Linked DNA regions of Homo sapiens: all the other regions are linked to region 4. The links are contacts of gene promoters, found by promoter capture Hi-C in blood cells and fetal thymus (Javierre and others, 2016). All regions are on one chromosome and are shown on one strand. Each heading gives the region's core, a stretch centred on a gene start or on the middle of the fragment in contact. The rest is flanking DNA. Distances are from core to core; before and after follow the strand shown. Region 1 holds the start of NCAPD3 (non-SMC condensin II complex subunit D3). Region 2 has its middle 2.5 kb from the start of TTC17. Region 3 holds the start of TTC12 (tetratricopeptide repeat domain 12). Region 4 holds the start of CCDC90B (coiled-coil domain containing 90B). Region 5 holds the start of YPEL4 (yippee like 4). Region 6 holds the start of TNKS1BP1 (tankyrase 1 binding protein 1).

Evidence for each region. Contacts are between HindIII fragments. The CHiCAGO score rates a contact against its expected background, and 5 or more counts as called.
Region 1: the fragment with the promoter of NCAPD3 here is called in contact with the fragment with the promoter of CCDC90B in region 4 in 1 of 17 cell types (activated CD4 T cells); the score reaches 7.5 in activated CD4 T cells.
Region 2: a contact is called between a fragment that was not itself captured here and the fragment with the promoter of CCDC90B in region 4, in 2 of 17 cell types (total CD4 T cells and activated CD4 T cells). The highest score is 9.8, in total CD4 T cells.
Region 3: a fragment that was not itself captured here is called in contact with the fragment with the promoter of CCDC90B in region 4 in 1 of 17 cell types (naive CD8 T cells); the score reaches 9.8 in naive CD8 T cells.
Region 5: the fragment with the promoter of YPEL4 here is called in contact with the fragment with the promoter of CCDC90B in region 4 in 2 of 17 cell types (fetal thymus and naive CD8 T cells); the score reaches 9.4 in fetal thymus.
Region 6: the fragment with the promoter of TNKS1BP1 here is called in contact with the fragment with the promoter of CCDC90B in region 4 in 4 of 17 cell types (total CD4 T cells, total CD8 T cells, naive CD8 T cells and 1 more); the score reaches 10.3 in total CD4 T cells.

What each region holds. Positions count from the first base shown.
Region 1 is chr11:134,222,615-134,225,314 of GRCh38, reverse strand. NCAPD3 (non-SMC condensin II complex subunit D3) reads left to right here and starts at 1,348. Exons shown (of 35, transcript NM_015261.3): 1 at 1,348-1,452. The coding sequence starts at 1,389. It overlaps VPS26B (VPS26 retromer complex component B), which reads right to left and starts at 644. Exons shown (of 6, transcript NM_052875.5): 1 at 1-644. The coding sequence starts at 192. RefSeq lists enhancers at 8-67, 858-907 and a silencer at 268-737. The HindIII fragment of the contact is 9,666 bases long and covers 1-2,700 here.
Region 2 is chr11:43,355,061-43,357,778 of GRCh38, reverse strand. No RefSeq gene overlaps it. Among named protein-coding and RNA genes, the nearest start is that of TTC17, 2.5 kb to the left of the region's middle. The HindIII fragment of the contact is 3,070 bases long and covers 1-2,718 here.
Region 3 is chr11:113,314,497-113,317,196 of GRCh38, reverse strand. TTC12 (tetratricopeptide repeat domain 12) reads right to left here and starts at 2,614. Exons shown (of 22, transcript NM_017868.4): 1 at 2,579-2,614; 2 at 882-954. The coding sequence starts at 939. RefSeq lists silencers at 2,244-2,343, 2,236-2,530, 2,554-2,700. The HindIII fragment of the contact is 180 bases long and covers 1,168-1,347 here.
Region 4 is chr11:83,284,984-83,287,683 of GRCh38, reverse strand. It overlaps CCDC90B (coiled-coil domain containing 90B), which reads left to right and starts at 1,317. Exons shown (of 9, transcript NM_021825.5): 1 at 1,317-1,811. The coding sequence starts at 1,712. CCDC90B-AS1 (CCDC90B antisense RNA 1) reads right to left here and starts at 1,564. Exons shown (of 3, transcript NR_186344.1): 1 at 1,137-1,564. RefSeq lists enhancers at 1,280-1,929, 1,352-1,947, 1,980-2,059, 1,948-2,544. The HindIII fragment of the contact is 4,800 bases long and covers 863-2,700 here.
Region 5 is chr11:57,648,527-57,651,226 of GRCh38, reverse strand. It overlaps YPEL4 (yippee like 4), which reads left to right and starts at 1,315. Exons shown (of 5, transcript NM_145008.3): 1 at 1,315-1,542. MIR130AHG (MIR130A host gene) reads right to left here. Exons shown (of 2, transcript NR_186232.1): 2 at 1-929. The HindIII fragment of the contact is 14,007 bases long and covers 1-2,700 here.
Region 6 is chr11:57,323,562-57,326,261 of GRCh38, reverse strand. TNKS1BP1 (tankyrase 1 binding protein 1) reads left to right here and starts at 1,310. Exons shown (of 12, transcript NM_033396.3): 1 at 1,310-1,422. It overlaps SSRP1 (structure specific recognition protein 1), which reads left to right. Exons shown (of 17, transcript NM_003146.3): 17 at 1-274. RefSeq lists enhancers at 144-1,017, 1,047-1,096 and a silencer at 1,227-1,506. The HindIII fragment of the contact is 11,807 bases long and covers 743-2,700 here.

The DNA of each region.
Region 1 (2,700 bases), core at 99-2,598, about 51 Mb before region 4:
CTGGTGCTCCAGCCGCTTGTTGGGGTTCTTGAGGGCAAGGCTCACCTTCCCGGAGACCGTCTCCCCGTCGTAGAAGAGGAAATATTTCTCCTTCTTCCCGTCCTCCGTCTTGTGCTCGGCCCGCTTCCTACTCTCTGCATCGTTCAGAAGGATTTCCACCTCCACGCTCTGCCCGAAGCCGAAGAAGCTCATCGCACCGCCGGGCCGGGCGGGTCTCGGTAAGGACCGCTCCCTCGCACCGGGGCGCGGGCTGCCCTAGGTAAAGAAGGCCAGAGGGCCCGATGCGCGAGCGCGCTCGGCCGCCGCGGGGCTGCCTGGCTCCGCCGCTGCCGCCGGGCAGTGGGCGCCGACGGACAGCCGGCTCCACGGGGGAGGGGCACGGCCGGGGGAGGCTGGCGGCTGCGGGCTGCGGCGCCCGAGCAGCAATGCACCGAGGAGCAGTGCCCTCGGCCGAGCCAGTCCCAGCCAGTCCCGCGGCCGGTGGCAGTGGGCGGGCGAGGGTCGGCCGTGCAATGCTGCGGGGGGCAGCCGCACAGAGCCGGGTGTGGGTGGCCTGCGCCTGCCGGGTGGGGTCCAGCGCCGAGCAGCGCTGCGAGCTGCCCAGCCTCCGGCGGTGCAACGCACCGAGGCGCTTCGGCGGCTCCGGGCGGGGGAGGGGGCGGGCGAGCTCCAGCCCGGATGCGCTGGAGCAGCGGCGCGCAGGCGCACCCCCTAACGCTCCTGGGACTCCCGGCAGCCCGGAGGAGAGCTCGCTGCGCATGCGCAGGGAGAGCGCGGCCGGCGCTCCAGCGGTCGGCATGGCAGCTGCTACCTCGCTGGGACAGGCTCTGGGCCCACGCGTGCCGCGCAGTCCCTACAGAACTGCAGTTGTCTTGTCTTCTCGGAGTGCTTTCGGCTACTTTTCCCTTATTACTTTAGCTCGATACACGTTGGGCTGCCTTTCACATTCGGATATTACGCTGTTCGAGTGCTGACGGGAAAGGCAGCCCTTTGACACGCACGCGAAATGTCGCCTGACGAGGGCAAAGGTGACAGTTACTACCGGAAGTACCCTATCTCAGATACCCTTTAGATTTTCCCCCATTGAAGAAAAACGAGGCGGGAAAAACGCTGTTAGGGTTTAACTCAGGCCCTGGCTCCTTCTCGAACGAATTAGCGGAACACCCGCAGGAGCCTTGTTTGGCTTCCACTTTTCGGCCCGCCCAGTTCTCTGAGCGTGCGGCGGACGACGCCGGTGATTGGTTGAGCGAATGGAAACGGCTCGGCGCGGTGGTTGGCCAGTGGGAAATTCTGTACGTTGTGATTGGTCCACAGGAACGACTCGGCGCGCGCGCGGGAGCGAGCTTTGAAAGTTGAGCACGGCGGCGGCGAGCCGGTGCCCTGGGATCATGGTGGCGTTGCGGGGCCTTGGTAGCGGCCTGCAGCCCTGGTGTCCGCTGGATCTTAGACTCGGTGAGCAGATGCAGCCGGGAGGCCCGGGGGCCAGGGCGAGGGTCCTATGCGTCCCCGACGATGCCTAAGCCCGGGCCGGGGTGCCGGTGGGGGCGGGGTGGGGGCGCCCGGCTGTCGGCGGTGCCTGGGGTCCCCAGGGCCGTGCCACGCCAGGATTGCGGCTAGCCAGGTTTCCCGTGGGGGCTCAAGCCGGCCAGGCCACCCTTAGAATAAGCGAATGTTGGCCAGTCTCTTCTAGCGCCTGTGCATCTGTTTTCTCGGCCTTCCCCTTCTTCCTGTGCGTGTCTTCGTGCACCTATCTATTCTTACCTATTAAGATGGTTTTAAATTGCAAATCTCTTTCTTCCGCCAGACTTATTTCTTGAACTTCATGTTCATAGGTTCCACTGGATGTCTCACATGCAGACATCATCAAACGTCACATGAGTGAAAATGGGATTCCCAAAGCCTGCTAATGGCACCATCCAAGCCACCAACCCAGGAGTCATGGCATTTCTGCTTCCCCTTTCATGCCCACTACCACTGTCCTGCCTCTGAGGTGTCTCAGGGCAGCCCCGCTCCATTCCTGATGCTGCTGCCTTCATCATAGCCTCGAGCAATTGCAGGAGTATTTTAGCTGCTTTCTGATGTTAACTGTGCCAGCCCATCCCCCACACTTTTGCAGAACGACTTTTGAAAACACAGCTTTGAATGTGTCAAGCCTGTACACCTTTAATGTTTCCCCTTTGTTTCCTAAATAAATGACCACATCCTTGGCATGCTTTATAAGAGCTGCCATTCTCTCCAGTTTGATTTTCCAAGAGCATAACCTTTGGAGTCGGACACACTTGGATTGTTCCCTTGGCTCTACCCCATAGCATCCATGTATTACCGTGCAGGTTGTTTATCCTTGCTAAACCCCTGTTTTCTGATCTGTCAAATGGGGAGTACAATATCTACCTCACAGGGGTTTTTGTAAAGATAAATTTGTACTTGCCACATAATAACTGCTGAACAGATACTAATACCCACAAGCAAACACTGTAACAATTTTGTTCATTTAGAAACACTTTAATTTCTTTCCCTTTGTGTGCTTTGTTACACTGTGCTTGCTGGGAGGCACTTTTCTGCATTTATTTGCCTGGCAAAACTCTTACATTCAGGTCCAATTGAAGAATCATCTTATTCCTCTCCCTCCTCCCCCAGTACTATTCCCTATTAAGCTCTGTAGCATTTTACATTTTACATATCTATTATTTTAACACTCAT
Region 2 (2,718 bases), core at 64-2,563, about 40 Mb after region 4:
TTTTTCTTCATTCCAGGAACAGCTTTTCTTAAAGGCCTGAAGACTGAACATTCATTTCATTAAAAATATATGGCTTATTTGCTTTTTGCCTGGTACTCTGATAGTCTCTGGGTATGGAAATGTAACCATTGGGCAGTGTGCAATATAGTGAGATATTATTGGCAGGTTAACAATTAAAATACAGGATAATGGGGGTGTATGAATGCATATGTACAGGAGAGAGCAACCAACCAGGTGAAAAAAAGGTTTGGAGCTCAGGTGCTGGTTCAGGCAGAATAATAAGTGAAAAGGTGAAGTTGGCCGGGCGCGGTGGCTCACGCCTGTAATCCCAGCACTTTGGGAGGCCGAGGTGGATGGATCACTGAGGTCAGGAGTTCAAGACTGGCCTGGCCAAGATGGTGAAACCCCGCCTCTACTAAAAATACAAAAATCAGCCGGGCATGGTGGCGGGCACCTGTAATTCCAGCTACTTGGGAGGCTGAGGCAGAGAATTGCTTGAACACGGGAGGCGGGGATTGCAGTGAGCCGAGATCACACCACTGCACTCCAGCCTAAGTGACAGAGCGAGAATCCGTCTCAAGAAACGAAAAGGTGAAGTCAGTGGCATGTTTTAAGAGTTTCTTGGAGTTTAGACATAGGCAATAGGGAGTGTTTCAGAATTTTAAAATAGAGAAGTGGCAAATGATGGAATCCCTTTTGTCTCAGCATCTTATTTTTGGGGCATAGAGGTCAACCCTATTTCTTGTGTATAAAGCTGACATCATCATCATCTAACATTTCTTGAGTGTTTAATACGTACTGGGTCCTGTACATGCATAGTTCCTATTAATCGTCACAACTTACCAAGCTCTGGCTAGTTAAGTAAGTTGGCCAAGATCATATTGCTAAGTGGTAGAGCTCAGGTTTGGACTCAGATCCACCTGACTCTAGATCTGAGAGCCTGAGAATGAATGAATGTTAGTGAGGAATTTGAGAAAGGCCCCAGCATCACATATTTTGCTATCAGCAATTTCTTTGACCTTCACAAGTTAACCTCTAAAGGGGTGGAATTATAGCTTCTATAGCTTTATTATACCACCTATTTTCTGTAGATGATAACTCTTATCTTTTGGGATCCTGTATTAGTTTTCTAATGCTGTGTAACAATTGCCACAAACTTAGCTTAACACATTATCTGACAGTTTCCTTGGGGCAAAAGTCTTCTGCTGTGGTGTGACTGAGTTCTCTGCTCAGTGTCACAAGGCTCATATCAAGGCTGCAATCTCATCTGAGGCTTGGGGTTCCTCAGTCAAGCTCATTCTTCAAGTCCTTGGCAGAATTCAATTTATTGCCAATGTAGGACTGAGGGCTCCATTTTCTTACTGGCTGCTGATTGTGGCCATTAACATTGAGGCTACCCACAGTTTTCTGCCATGTGGCTCTCACAATGGCAGTTATTCCTTGAAGGCAAGCAGAATATTTCCACTGCTGAAATCTCTTGAATTCCTCTATCTCTAAGCCTAGACTTAAAGGGCTCATGTGAGTTGATAAGGTCTATCTGAATAATATCCCTTTTTATTCAACTGATTAGTAACTTTAATGCCATCTGCAAAAATTTCGTTTGCCATATAACATTATCTTAGTCCATTTTGTGTTGTTATAACAGAATACCTAAAGCTGGGCAATTCATAAAGAAAAGAGGTTTAATTGGCTTATGATTCTGGTGGCTGAAAAGTCCAAGATTGGGCAGCCGCATCTGGTAAGGGCCTCACGCTGCTTCCACTTAGGGAGGAAAGCAGAAGGGGAGTGGGTGTGCATAGAGATCACATGTTGAGAGAAGCAGCAAGAGAGACAAATCAAGAAAGCCAAACTCTTTTAACAACCCACACTCGAGAACTAATTCATTCCTGAGAGAGCAAGAACTCACCTCCCCCCCCACCACCGTGAGGGCATTAATCTGTTCATGACAGATCCACCCCCATGACCCAGAAACCTTCCACTAGGCCCCATCTCCCAACACTGCCACATTGGGTACCAAATTTCAACATGAGTTTTGGCGGCCCTAACCACATCCAAACCTATGATCACAGGAGTGATATCGTATTCATGTTTTACCCACATAGTCAAGTTAGGAAATTTCCCCCTTTTCTACTCTATTAAGGTGAAATGGACAAAATTGTATATATTTAGTGTACAACATGATGTTTTAATATACGTAGGGGAGATTTTATGCGGGCAAGGACCATTGGGTATCATCTTAGAATTTTGCCTACCACAGATCTTGACTGCCAAGTACCATTCTTCTAGTCTTTCACTGAACTGTTTTAAGTATCACAGACTAATTTAGACATACTTTTGCTCCTGTTCCCTGCCTAAAATCCTTTCCTCATGCTGCTTTCTCAAATCTATTTAAGATACAGTTGAAATCCTAGCCTGCAAAAATGTCTGTCAACTTGTTTGCCACCTCTGAATTCTGTCAGTAATATGACAATACTATGCTGCTTTGTGATATTATTTTATAAACTTTGAACAGCCAAACTCTTGAGTGGTTCTTGCAATAGTTCTTAGTTCTAATCTGGTGAGGCAGAACACTCAAACAGTAAGTCAGGCAAAGCAAATTTTTTACAAATAGGCAGCAAAGATACACAGAAATGGAGGATCCATGGTTAGCTGATCCCATGGCTCAGGAAAGCTGCTTAGGGCAGATGGAGCCTCATCTGCACATACCCCATGTTGCAG
Region 3 (2,700 bases), core at 8-2,507, about 30 Mb before region 4:
TGTCCATGTAGATGTGGGGGTCATGAACAAACAGGTGGCAGGTAAAGCTACATGTTTAGACCAGCTGAAGAGAAAGGTGGCAGTGGGCCAAGGCCAGAGCTCCATGGAACAGCATTCAGGGATAAGCATTATTCATGTATCATTTACGATGTCACCCAAGCTAGCTTTAAAACCACTTTATTCCTTGAACCCATACAATCTGCTACAAGCAGCAATTTCAGCATATTGCCTGTATTTACTATGTAAGGTCTGTTTGCTTGTTGGTTTGTTTGTTTCTATACTCAAGCAAGCTCCCTGAACAGGGACTGACAGGTTTGGAAATTCCTGAATGTGATCTGTGGGATCAGAGTACATTTCTTTGAGATCCAACCTGCCTGAACTTGGGAAAGGACTTTCTTGTCTAGAGAGAGAGAAGGGAATGATGATCATAAACCATCCATGTAATTTGATGGATCCTAAAGGAAAGCCATTTGATTTTGCCTCTGCAGCTCTAAAACAGAAATGGCTCTACTCTAAAACGGGAGGAATCTCACACTGATCAATGAGGTTCTTGACCCTTGAAGGGAACAGCTGGGTTCATTGTCAATGGGGAAACAGCAGCTGGTTTTGACTGGATTCCACATAGAAGGATACAAAATATGGAAGAAAACCGTCAGCCTGAATTCCTATCAGAATGTTAACAGTTTCTCTGATACCAATTAACAGCCAGAAAATACAGCCCTGAGGCTATAACTTGTTTCTCAATACCCTTCTCTTTAATTTCAATTACATTTTTTTCCTAAGAGTTATAAACCTGTCAAGCCACCCAGGAACTTAGAGCAATCATTTATCTACTCCACTTCTCTAAAGCAGAAATTAATTTATGATTTACTAGTACTTACAGATTTCATCCACATTTTTAAGAAATTTCTGCAAATCTTTCTCTTTATCAGCATCCATTGTGAACCGGAATCCCTAAGGGATGCAGCATAATGGTGAAATTAATAATAATAAAGCACTAAACAGAACGGTCAGGCTTATTAGCCTTCTAAAACTAAGAGCCAAGTGATTATTTTTATGACAGTTTTGTTTATGTCAATGAATAACAGCAGGGTGATCCCTTTCATTCCAACTGCTGTTTTAGGCCAAGAGGCACTCATTTACGTGCGGCAATGCTTCCAGAAAGCTTCCAGCCCTCCTTCCAGTGCAGAAAACGCTCTGCAAATAGTTCTTCCAAAGCCAACATCAACCCCGGCGATTTAGGGACCTGGCATGGAGATGAGAAGAGAGCAGATGACAGGTTGCCAAGGATAGAGAAATACACTAACACCTGACTTTGATCATGACAGGCTGGTCTAGTCAGAAGCTTAAATGTGGATGTGTGACAGGTAACAAACTTGGGGCAATTTGCATCTAAATGTCCATACTTGTTTAAAATCTGCCTTTGGCTTGTTTCTGAAGAGTGAAGAAAGGGTACAAATTGACTGAAGGGATTAGAACATAATGTTACCATGCTCACCAGCGTCTCTTCTGCTCTAGGTACCTCAGATATTATTTTACAGTTGTTTTTGTGCGAGAAGGCCCCGTGGTGTACCCAGCAGTACTCAGTGGTTCATCCACAGATCATAAAAATCATCGGGAAGATTGTTAAATATACAGCTTCCTCAGCCGTAGCCCGAGATTTCAAGTCAGTAAACCCGGGACATTGCCCAGACACGAATATAGATTTTAAACACTTTCCAGGTGATTCTCATTTATGGCCAGGTTTCATAGTAGTGTAACACGCTTCTAACACGTAATCTGCCACGAACAAACTACGAGTGATTTAATCGAGTCTCAGTGTCCTCATCTCCACCAGTTACAAGCTGTGTGATTCTGGCTAAATTCACAACCTCTCCGAGCCTCAGAGTCCTCACCCATACTATGGGAACAGTAAGAGAGAAACTACGAGGACTATTCTGGGGACTGATGTAAAGCACCAGGCACGCGACGAGTCCTCACCGTGAAGCACCCTTACCTATATAAAACAGGGGGTGGGGTTGCGGCTTAACTGAATAATCGCTAGGGTTTCTTCCAGGTCAAATCTTTTCAACTCCCACGGAACAGAGGCCTAGTCCAGTGAATTAATCTGCCCAACGGTATGAAGGTTAGAAGGCAGGCGCGCGGGTGCATGGACAGGAGACAACCTCTGTCTCCCAGGGCATGGATCTCAGGGTCCTCACTGCCTGGCCAGTGCCCCCCTACGCTAGGGTGAGAGGGCCAGAGCCAGGTGATGGCGAAGCGGCGCCGCGCTCAGTGCTTCACTCGGTAGGGCTGCGGCAGCGGGGACCTGTGCCCGAGCCCCGCGCGGAGCCTGCCCCAGACGCGCGCTGCCCGCCGGGCGCAAAGAGGCCAGGCCGCACGCACTGTTGCCCAGCAACCGCTCCCAGGCGTCCGCAAGTCCCGGGCCCTCCATGCAGGTCCCAGACCGCAGCCGTCCCAGACCGCAGCCAAGACCTTCCCATGCTCTGGGGCCCAAAGCAGCGTCCTCTGCTCGGCTCTGAAGGCCAGTGCAGGACCAGCTCCCAGGGGGGATTCCGGGGTACCCCGCGGCACCGACCTGATTCGCCCAGCTTTGGACAGGAAATGGCGCAGTGACCTGCCTGGGCTGGGGCGGGGCCAGGAGCCAGGGGCCCGGGGCGGGACCAAGGGCGGGGCCAGGAGCCAGGGCCCGGGGCGGGA
Region 4 (2,700 bases), core at 68-2,567:
TGAAATCAACCTAAGTGCCCATCAACAGTGGACTGGATAAAGAAAATGTGGTACATATACACCATGGAATATAATGCAGCCATAAAAATAAGGAAATTATACTCTTTGTAGCAACATGGATGGAACTGGAGCCATTATCCTATGCAACCTAATGCCAAGAACAGAAAACCAAATACACATGTTCTCACTTATAAGTAGGAGCTAAACATTGAATATATGATGGTAAACGTGGAAACAACAGGCATTGAGGATCATTAGATGAGGAAAGGGGGAGACGGACAGAGGGGCATGGGTTGAAAAAGCACCTGTTGAGTACTATGCTTACATCCTGTTGGGATCATTGGGACCCCTAACCTCGATATACCCTAAGGTTTTGCGTTTTGTATTTTGAAACTGGTAAGATCAAACTTTTTTCCCAATTTTTTTTTTTTTTTTTTAGATCGAGTCTCACTCTGTCGCCCAGGCTGGAGTGCAATGGTGTGATCTCGACTCACTGCAACCTCCGCCTCCAGGATTCAAGCGATTCTCCTACCTCAGCCTCCTGAGTAGCTGGGATTACAGGCATGTGCCACCACGCCCGGCTAATTTTGTATTTTTAATATAGACAGGGTTTCTCCACGTTGGTCAGGTTGGTCTCGAACTCCCGACCTCAGGTGATCTGCCCGCCTCGGCCTCCCAAAGTGCTGGAATTACAGGCATGAGCCACCACGCCCAGCCATCCCAGTGTTTTAAATAGCAATTTATATTTCCTCTTCATGAATTGTCTGTTAAAGCAGTTGTTGGCGGGAATCAAGTTTTGTTCTTTCAATGTGCTTCGGGCCTTAGAAATGGTGTTTGTTACTTAGTTGACTCTCACAAAGCTTTGAATACATATAGATAGAAACCTAGCCGTAATTGTTTAGAATCTTGAGAGAGTAAGCCACTAACACCGCACAACTGTGTGCCATTTTACAACTTACAGAGAATATTCATGAGTATTAGTGCATTTTAATACAACTACTGTGCATTGTTGCTTTCAGCATTTTACTATGCGGAGCAGTCTTGAGTAACTGAGGTCTGAGAAGGATAAATGGTGAAAATTCAAGGAATTTCTCCTAGAAACGGAGGAATTCGGCTTCCCTAAAGAAAGGACATACCGACTGAAATAGTTGGTCCTCCCGTGCACCAGAGGGTGAAGCAGCAGGATGTGACGCCTCACGAAAAGTGAGCGGCTTGCTGGACTACACTTCCCAGAAGGTTTCGTTGGCCCTCGCACTACGCAATCACCCAGAACGCTCAGCGGCCGAAAACTTCAGGTTCCAGGCTGCTGTGCGGCTAAATGCGACTCCATCTCCCCCGACCCAAGCGCGTAATGGCCGCTGGCTATCTTGGGGGAGCCAGCTGTTGGACTATGCCCCACTGCCAGGAAACAGGCGCCGGAAGGTTCTCTGACAAGATCTCGCTTTCCTAGGGCGGTGAAGGCGTTCAAAGGTCGGGAAGGGGCGCTGGGAGAAGCGGGGCAGCGCTGAGCCATGCTCGCGAACTGTGGGTCTGTCTGTGAAGAGACCCAGTTTCGTGGGACCACGGTGGCGCCTGCGCTGGGAGGTGAGCTTGTGACAGAGCGAAAACTACAATTCCCAGCATTCCTGTGGTGCCAGAACTACCTTGCCCGAAAGCCTGTGCGAGATTTACCCCGTCTTCCGCCTCCCTCCCACCGGAAAACTCTGAGGACATGAATAGTCGCCAGGCTTGGCGGCTCTTTCTCTCCCAAGGCAGAGGAGATCGTTGGGTTTCAAGGCCCCGCGGGCATTTCTCGCCGGCCCTGCGGAGAGGTGAGGCAAGGCGTCGTGTCATAGATGCCTGAGTGCTCTCTAGGGAGACGATGCCCGTGGGGTCGCGCCTGCTCGAGCGAACGGGAAGAGAAGGTGCCACGCCCTCCTCCCGGATTCACGCCTTGTGCTGGGCGACGCCGCTGCCTGCTGCCCCGACTTGCCCAGCTCGCCCCAAGGGGCGAGGACTGAGGAAAGCACTGCCTTTCTGTTCTTAAAGCGAACCTTTGAAGGCCTGGGCTTCGCGCCCGGCTTCTTTCTCAGCCGTTGTTTCCGTTTTTTGGTGACAAGAGGCTAGTAATCTCGTCAGGAGCCAACGTAAGGTAATCTGTGTTTGAGGGTGTCCTGTTTTCTTTTGTGGCCTGATCAAATTTTGATTTTGTTTTTTTAGGTGCTGGCCTCGAGCCCAGGTTTTTGGTAGACAGCATCATAAATTTCAGGCCACGTCTGCCTTATTCTCACTGGAATTCTCAGTACATTTCAGTCACATTGTAGACTTTGGGAAAATAAGTGAATACTGGAACCCACAAGTTTCCAACCTGTTGGCACCCCTGTTAACAGGGTGTCCTGAAGACATCTAACTTTATTCAGAGAAATGTTTCTAGGGCTAGGTTTTTGTTGTCGTCGTTGTTTTTCACCCCCAGTTTTTTAACTTCCCTCCCAGTTTTTAAACCGTTTTAAGGTTGTCCACAAAATAGGCGAATAGGCACCTCTTATCTCTGTTCACCTTCTTGAATCTTCAGTGCCAGGTACGCTGAGCCATTCGGTACCCAAACACTTCTACGCTGTTATTTATACTCCATATTGTTACTTGTGCTATTTTGCTCATTGTTTCATTTTAATCCACACCAGTAACAGCTGCAGTCAAAACTGCAGTTGTTGATCCTCCATC
Region 5 (2,700 bases), core at 66-2,565, about 26 Mb after region 4:
AAGGAAATAAAATGAAGATATTTTCTTAATACAAGTGTATATATGCACAAACATGTTCCTAACAAAAGGAGGAGGAAATACTCATGACAATTACAGTCCTCATTTTCTGCAGCTGGTCACATGGTCATAGTTCGTATTGATGACTACCTTCTTTGACTACCCATTCTGAATTCCGTTTGCCTTCAGCAAGCACCTCAGCAGATTATGTTTTTTTTACCTGGTGGAGTGACCCAAACCTTCATTCCTGAAGGGTCTGGGCCATTTGTCATCCTGCCTGGATTGGGCTGTTGCAGTTTCCCATTGACCTTAATCACAGGGCATGGTAATATTAAGAGACGCCCTACGTGATCTCCTGTATTCCACGCATACTTCCTTACCGCCATTGTGGAGTAGTAGACTGATTTCATCTTGATAGTCTGGGTCAAACACTGTAACTCCCTTCTTAGCAAGTTGGCTTAAAAGTAAGAAGAGCCCAAAGTGGCCAGGTGGCAATCTTAACTTCCAGTTTAATGGAATCATTGTTGTGTCTCTTGGTGGCAGCATTCCTCCCTCTGGAACTAAGACCTCTAGGCCAGCAGAACATAATGCCGCGGAAACAACTGCTATTTTGGAAACATCTAAATGCACGGGTCTGCACTGGACATTGCAGTCCTGGGATGTAGAGAGTAATTTCCCAGAAGGCCTGTCTCAGGAAGTTTACAGCCCAATAGAGAACTTCATATAACGTAGGTGTCTCCATTCATGAAGCACGCATAATATGGAGGTAGCTGTTAAGGGGTTCCTGCATGCAAAATGTCACATTGGGTCTATTACTCCTTCAGGAGTATTAAACCAAGGCTTTGAGGCTTGGTACAAGTTTGGGGGCACAGTTTGCCATCCATGACAATTAGTACATCTGTCTTTTCCCTGCTTCAGGGCTGGTGTCCAAGCTGAAATGGGAAAGTGTATCATCTTAAATGTGTGTGTGCTCCCTCACTCTGCATCCATCTCTTCCTTCACCAGCCTTGCCACCTCCTTTCCTCCAGCCCTGCCACCCTCACTGCATCCTTGCCCAGCCCTGTCCTTCCCCCAGGTTCTTCGTATCTCCTTGGCCCCACTGCCTTCCTCCTTAACAACCTGCCTCTCCCCTTGCCCACCATCGCCGCCTTGTCCCTCGGCCCCCACTCCTCTAGCCCCGTCCCTTGATGCCTACCCCCTCCCTTCCTTCCGACCCGCCTCCTGTGTCTCCCAGCCCTGCTCTGACGTGGGAGGTGAGGGGGGGTGGGGGGGATGGATGACTCACAGTGTTATGATGCAGTTCCACAACACACAGCCACATTCACCCACAGACCGAGGTACAGAACGAGAGACAACCTCTGCCCCCCCAGCAGCTGGCCAGCTTTGCAGCCCCAGTCTTGAGCCCCCAACTACCCTCCCCCCACCCACCCCCATCCCCTTCCCAATTGAAGGAGCGGAAAGAGAAGAGAGAAGAGTGAGCAGAGAGATTGAGAGATTGAGAGAGAGAGAGAGAGATAGACGGAGATCTCTGGAGCAGACCTCAAGGTGAGGGGGCAGCCCTTCTCCAAATGAATTTTTTTCTCTTTGCAAATTTCCTCCTCCTGCTGCGTGTTGCTTTCTCCCCTTTGCAAAAGCATTATTCATCCACCCTTTGTCCTCCCTTCCCCCTCCCCGCTGCCTCCGCTCCTCTCTCTCGGTTCCTCCATCCCTCTCCAAGCTCTGACGATTCCCGCACTTATTTCCCGGCAACTTTGGCTGCAGCATCAGGCATCACTGTTTATTGTTTTGCTGCTGGTGCAGACCCCCAAAGCCTGCCCTGGGAGCTGGCGGTGCTGCTAATTATTTGGACCATACCATACTGAGAATACCAGCCTGGGGGGTGCCAAAACCTCAGAGCAGATGAGAAAATCCATTGTGAGCAGGTGTCCCCCCCCTTTTCTTTTCCCCCCTGAGAAGCACGAGATTCGCACCTGGTTCCTCCAGCCTCCGCCTCGGCGCCTCTGCTGTCAGCTGTCAGTTGCCCCCGCCAGCCCTCCCTCTCCCCTTTCTCCTACGGTCCAGCCCCGTCTCACTTCAGGGGAACATCTCTCCCCAGCACTCGGCTTGCCTTTGTTTTTTCTCCAGTCATTTGCCCAACTTGCTTCTCCCTGTGATCCGAGATGGGTGAAAAAATGACCCCTACTCCCCTTTGTGATTCTCTGGCCTTCTGTGCAGCCTTTCCTTGGCTTGACTGGGAATTAGGGGAGAGGGAGGGAGGCGTGACGGCCGGAGGCTGGAGAAGGAGCTCAGGATTGGGGACCCAAGCTGCCCCATTCTCCATGCCCCTTGAAGAAGGTGTTTCAAGGTGGTGCATGTCAGAGGGGAACTCGCTGGCAAAGTTGAAGGCAAACCTGTGAAGCAGAGACTGAAAGGTGGTCTCTTGGCAAGGAGGGCCCGTTTCCTGCAGCCGGAGCCCAATGTCACCCTGAACTCAGCCCAAGGTGTCTTCCTGGGACCCAGCCCGGAGGAGAGGACCTGAAACTGAAGATAGTCTCTATGGAGGTTTTGCGGAGAGACTGCCTGGCGGCCTTCAGAGAGAGTGGAACAGCTGGGTGCCTGTGGCCACTGCGGAGGACAGGACGAGGAGAGCCTGTATGCCCTGGCTAACCAGAGCCAACACTGCCTCTTCTCTGCTTAGTGCTCTAGCATTGCCAGAGTGCCCAG
Region 6 (2,700 bases), core at 61-2,560, about 26 Mb after region 4:
GGGCAGTGGGGAGACGTCTTAACTCTGCTGCTTCCCAAGGATGGCTGTTTATAATTTGGGGAGAGATAGGGTGGGAGGCAGGGCAATGCAGGATCCAAATCCTCATCTTACTTTCCCGACCTTAAGGATGTAGCTGCTGCTTGTCCTGTTCAAGTTGCTGGAGCAGGGGTCATGTGAGGCCAGGCCTGTAGCTCCTACCTGGGGCCTATTTCTACTTTCATTTTGTATTTCTGGTCTGTGAAAATGATTTAATAAAGGGAACTGACTTTGGAAACCATGTCCTCATGCTTTCTTTGTAGCCTTGGTGTGTTGCTCCCACTTTTATTGGTGGTGTTTACTGCTCTGGTCAGACTGGGCAGGGCCTTCCTGGCCAGCCGGGAAGCAAGTCTCGAGGTACATCCTGTTCTGTTCCCGGCTGGACGAGCATTGGTTTTCACCCGCCTCTGCCCGGATGGGCCACCTGAGAGTCTAGAAATGAGAGCTGATCTGATTAGGAAGTTTCTCCCAGTTACACTCCATTAGCCAACCAAGCTAGGGGGAGGCAGCTCTTGGCTGCATCCTTACCTATGAGTCAAGGGTCTTCCAAGGCTTTCGATAATGAAATCAGGATTGACTGTCCTTCCCGCAGCCGGGGGAGTGGAAACCTGAGCCTGGAGAGTCGGGGAGGATGAGCGTGTGCGTAGAGTGGTGGTGGTTGCAGCCTGGTGGTGGTGCAACAAAGTACGGAGTTATATGTGAAGCTTTTGTTCTTACGGGAAGAAGGGGGTATACAAACTTCAGTGTAGGGAGGAACCCATGTCTGAGAAGGGGCCTAAAAGGAGATAAAGGTCACTAATGAGGAATGCAGAGCTGCCAGACTTCTTCACGGTGGCTCTAAATCTGAATTGACACAGGAGGGTGGCCACGTTGCGCGCGTTCTCAGCACTCAGGTGGTTGTATCAGGAAGCCGCTTCAGTCAGCCGGCGGCTACCTTCTTGCCGGCGTAGCTCGATGATACTGTGCTCTGTGCAGGCGGCGGAGCCCGGGAGGGGCCGCCAAGGCAGTTTCTCTAGGCAGTCGTCTCGGTGGCCATTTTACCCGAGCGCTCCCGGCTGAATTGCGTCAGTTTCGCCCCGGTCTGAGACTGGGGCGGGCCCCTCATCTGCAAGCCTCATGAATAATTGAGTGCTGGGCCGCGCCTGTTTGCCGACGGTGGGACGAATTCTGCACGGGCTTCCCACTCCCGGGTTCCAACCGGCTCATGCATATTCATGAAGCGCCCTGGGGGCGTGGACCTGGGCGGAGTTGGGGCGGGGCCCCGCCGGGGCTCGCAGTGGCTTCGTCCCGCGGTGACGGCGGCGGCGGCGGCGGTAGCAGCGGCGGCGGCGGCGGGGACTGGCATCGGGGCCCCGAGCCGAGCGGAGCCGGACCCCGGGCGAGCGCGTGAGTGCGCGGGGGCGGTCGGGCGAAGGAGGGGGCGGGGTCCGGGATGGGGCGGGGGAGGGGCATGGAAGGAGTGGGTGCTTTCCAGCCGACACCTCGGGTTGAGGTGGTGGTGGTCGGGGGGTCACCAGGAAAGTTTGCAGGGGCCGAGGGCGCTGGGGACGCTGGAGGCCCGGGGGAAGGTGGCGCGTGTGCGCGGAGGCGGAGGGCGCATGGCTTGGAGCTCGTGCTGGCAGAGCCAGAAGAAAGGGGGGAGGGGGCGAGGGCTTGGGGCGGGGCCGGGGGCGGGCAGAGCCGCTGGAGGGACCCCTGCCTCCCCTTCCTCCGGGCCGCGCTAGCCCCCTCCCCCGGCTCCTTCGGCACGCCCCCAGCCACCCCAGTCCGCCCCCACCTGATCGACGTCTGCAGCCCACCGTCTGTTCGCCGGCTGCTTCACAGCCCGCTCACAGGTCCTCCGCTTCTGCCGCCACCGCAGCCCCCTCCTCCTCCTCCTCTTCGGCTGCCGCCGTCCCTTCTGTGTCCAGAGCTCCCCACTGGGCCCCTCCAGACAGCCCATTGCCCGGGGCTGTTCCATCTTCCCGTTGGCCCTCCCTCTTTCCAGCAGTTTACGTGCTGTCCCTGCCGACCTCTCTAGCCTCGGATCCGGCTGGAGATCCTGGGGTCCATAGGGGCGACCCCGCCTGCGCCGAGTCCCCTCCGGGGCTGGAGCTGCCCAGCCCTTCTGGAGGCCTTATCTGCCAGGGGTCAGCTCGTTTCTACCCTGCTACCCTCTACCCCCTGGTCTCTTGAGGGTGGGGAGTGCTCAGAACCGCTGCGAATCGCAGCTTCTGGCCACAGCCTTGGTGGCCTTGGTCACCTGGGGCCCCTGGCTGGGGTCTCTGAGTTGCTGTGGCCACCTCCGCACCTGGGGACTCTGAGCCCGCCTTCATTGCTGCAGCCCCTCATACCGCAGAGGGGCCCATCAGAACCCCAGGTGAAAGGATTTTTTTGGTTCTGAGCCAATTAATTTCCATCTCCAACCACCCACACTATGTTCCTAGTAATAATGTTCAAGGACAAGGAAACAATCTTGTGTTTTAATTTTATTTTTTCTATCATGTGCCCCTCCCCCCACCACACTTGGCCTGGCTCTGCACAGTTATTCACCCACCCACAGTGGGCAGTCTTCCGTGGTGGTTAACTGACCAATGGGTTGACAGTACTGGGTTTCTCTACTGTCTTCATACCCTCTCCCATCTTTGAAACACCTGGGGCAGGGTCAGCGTTAGGGGAGGGGTG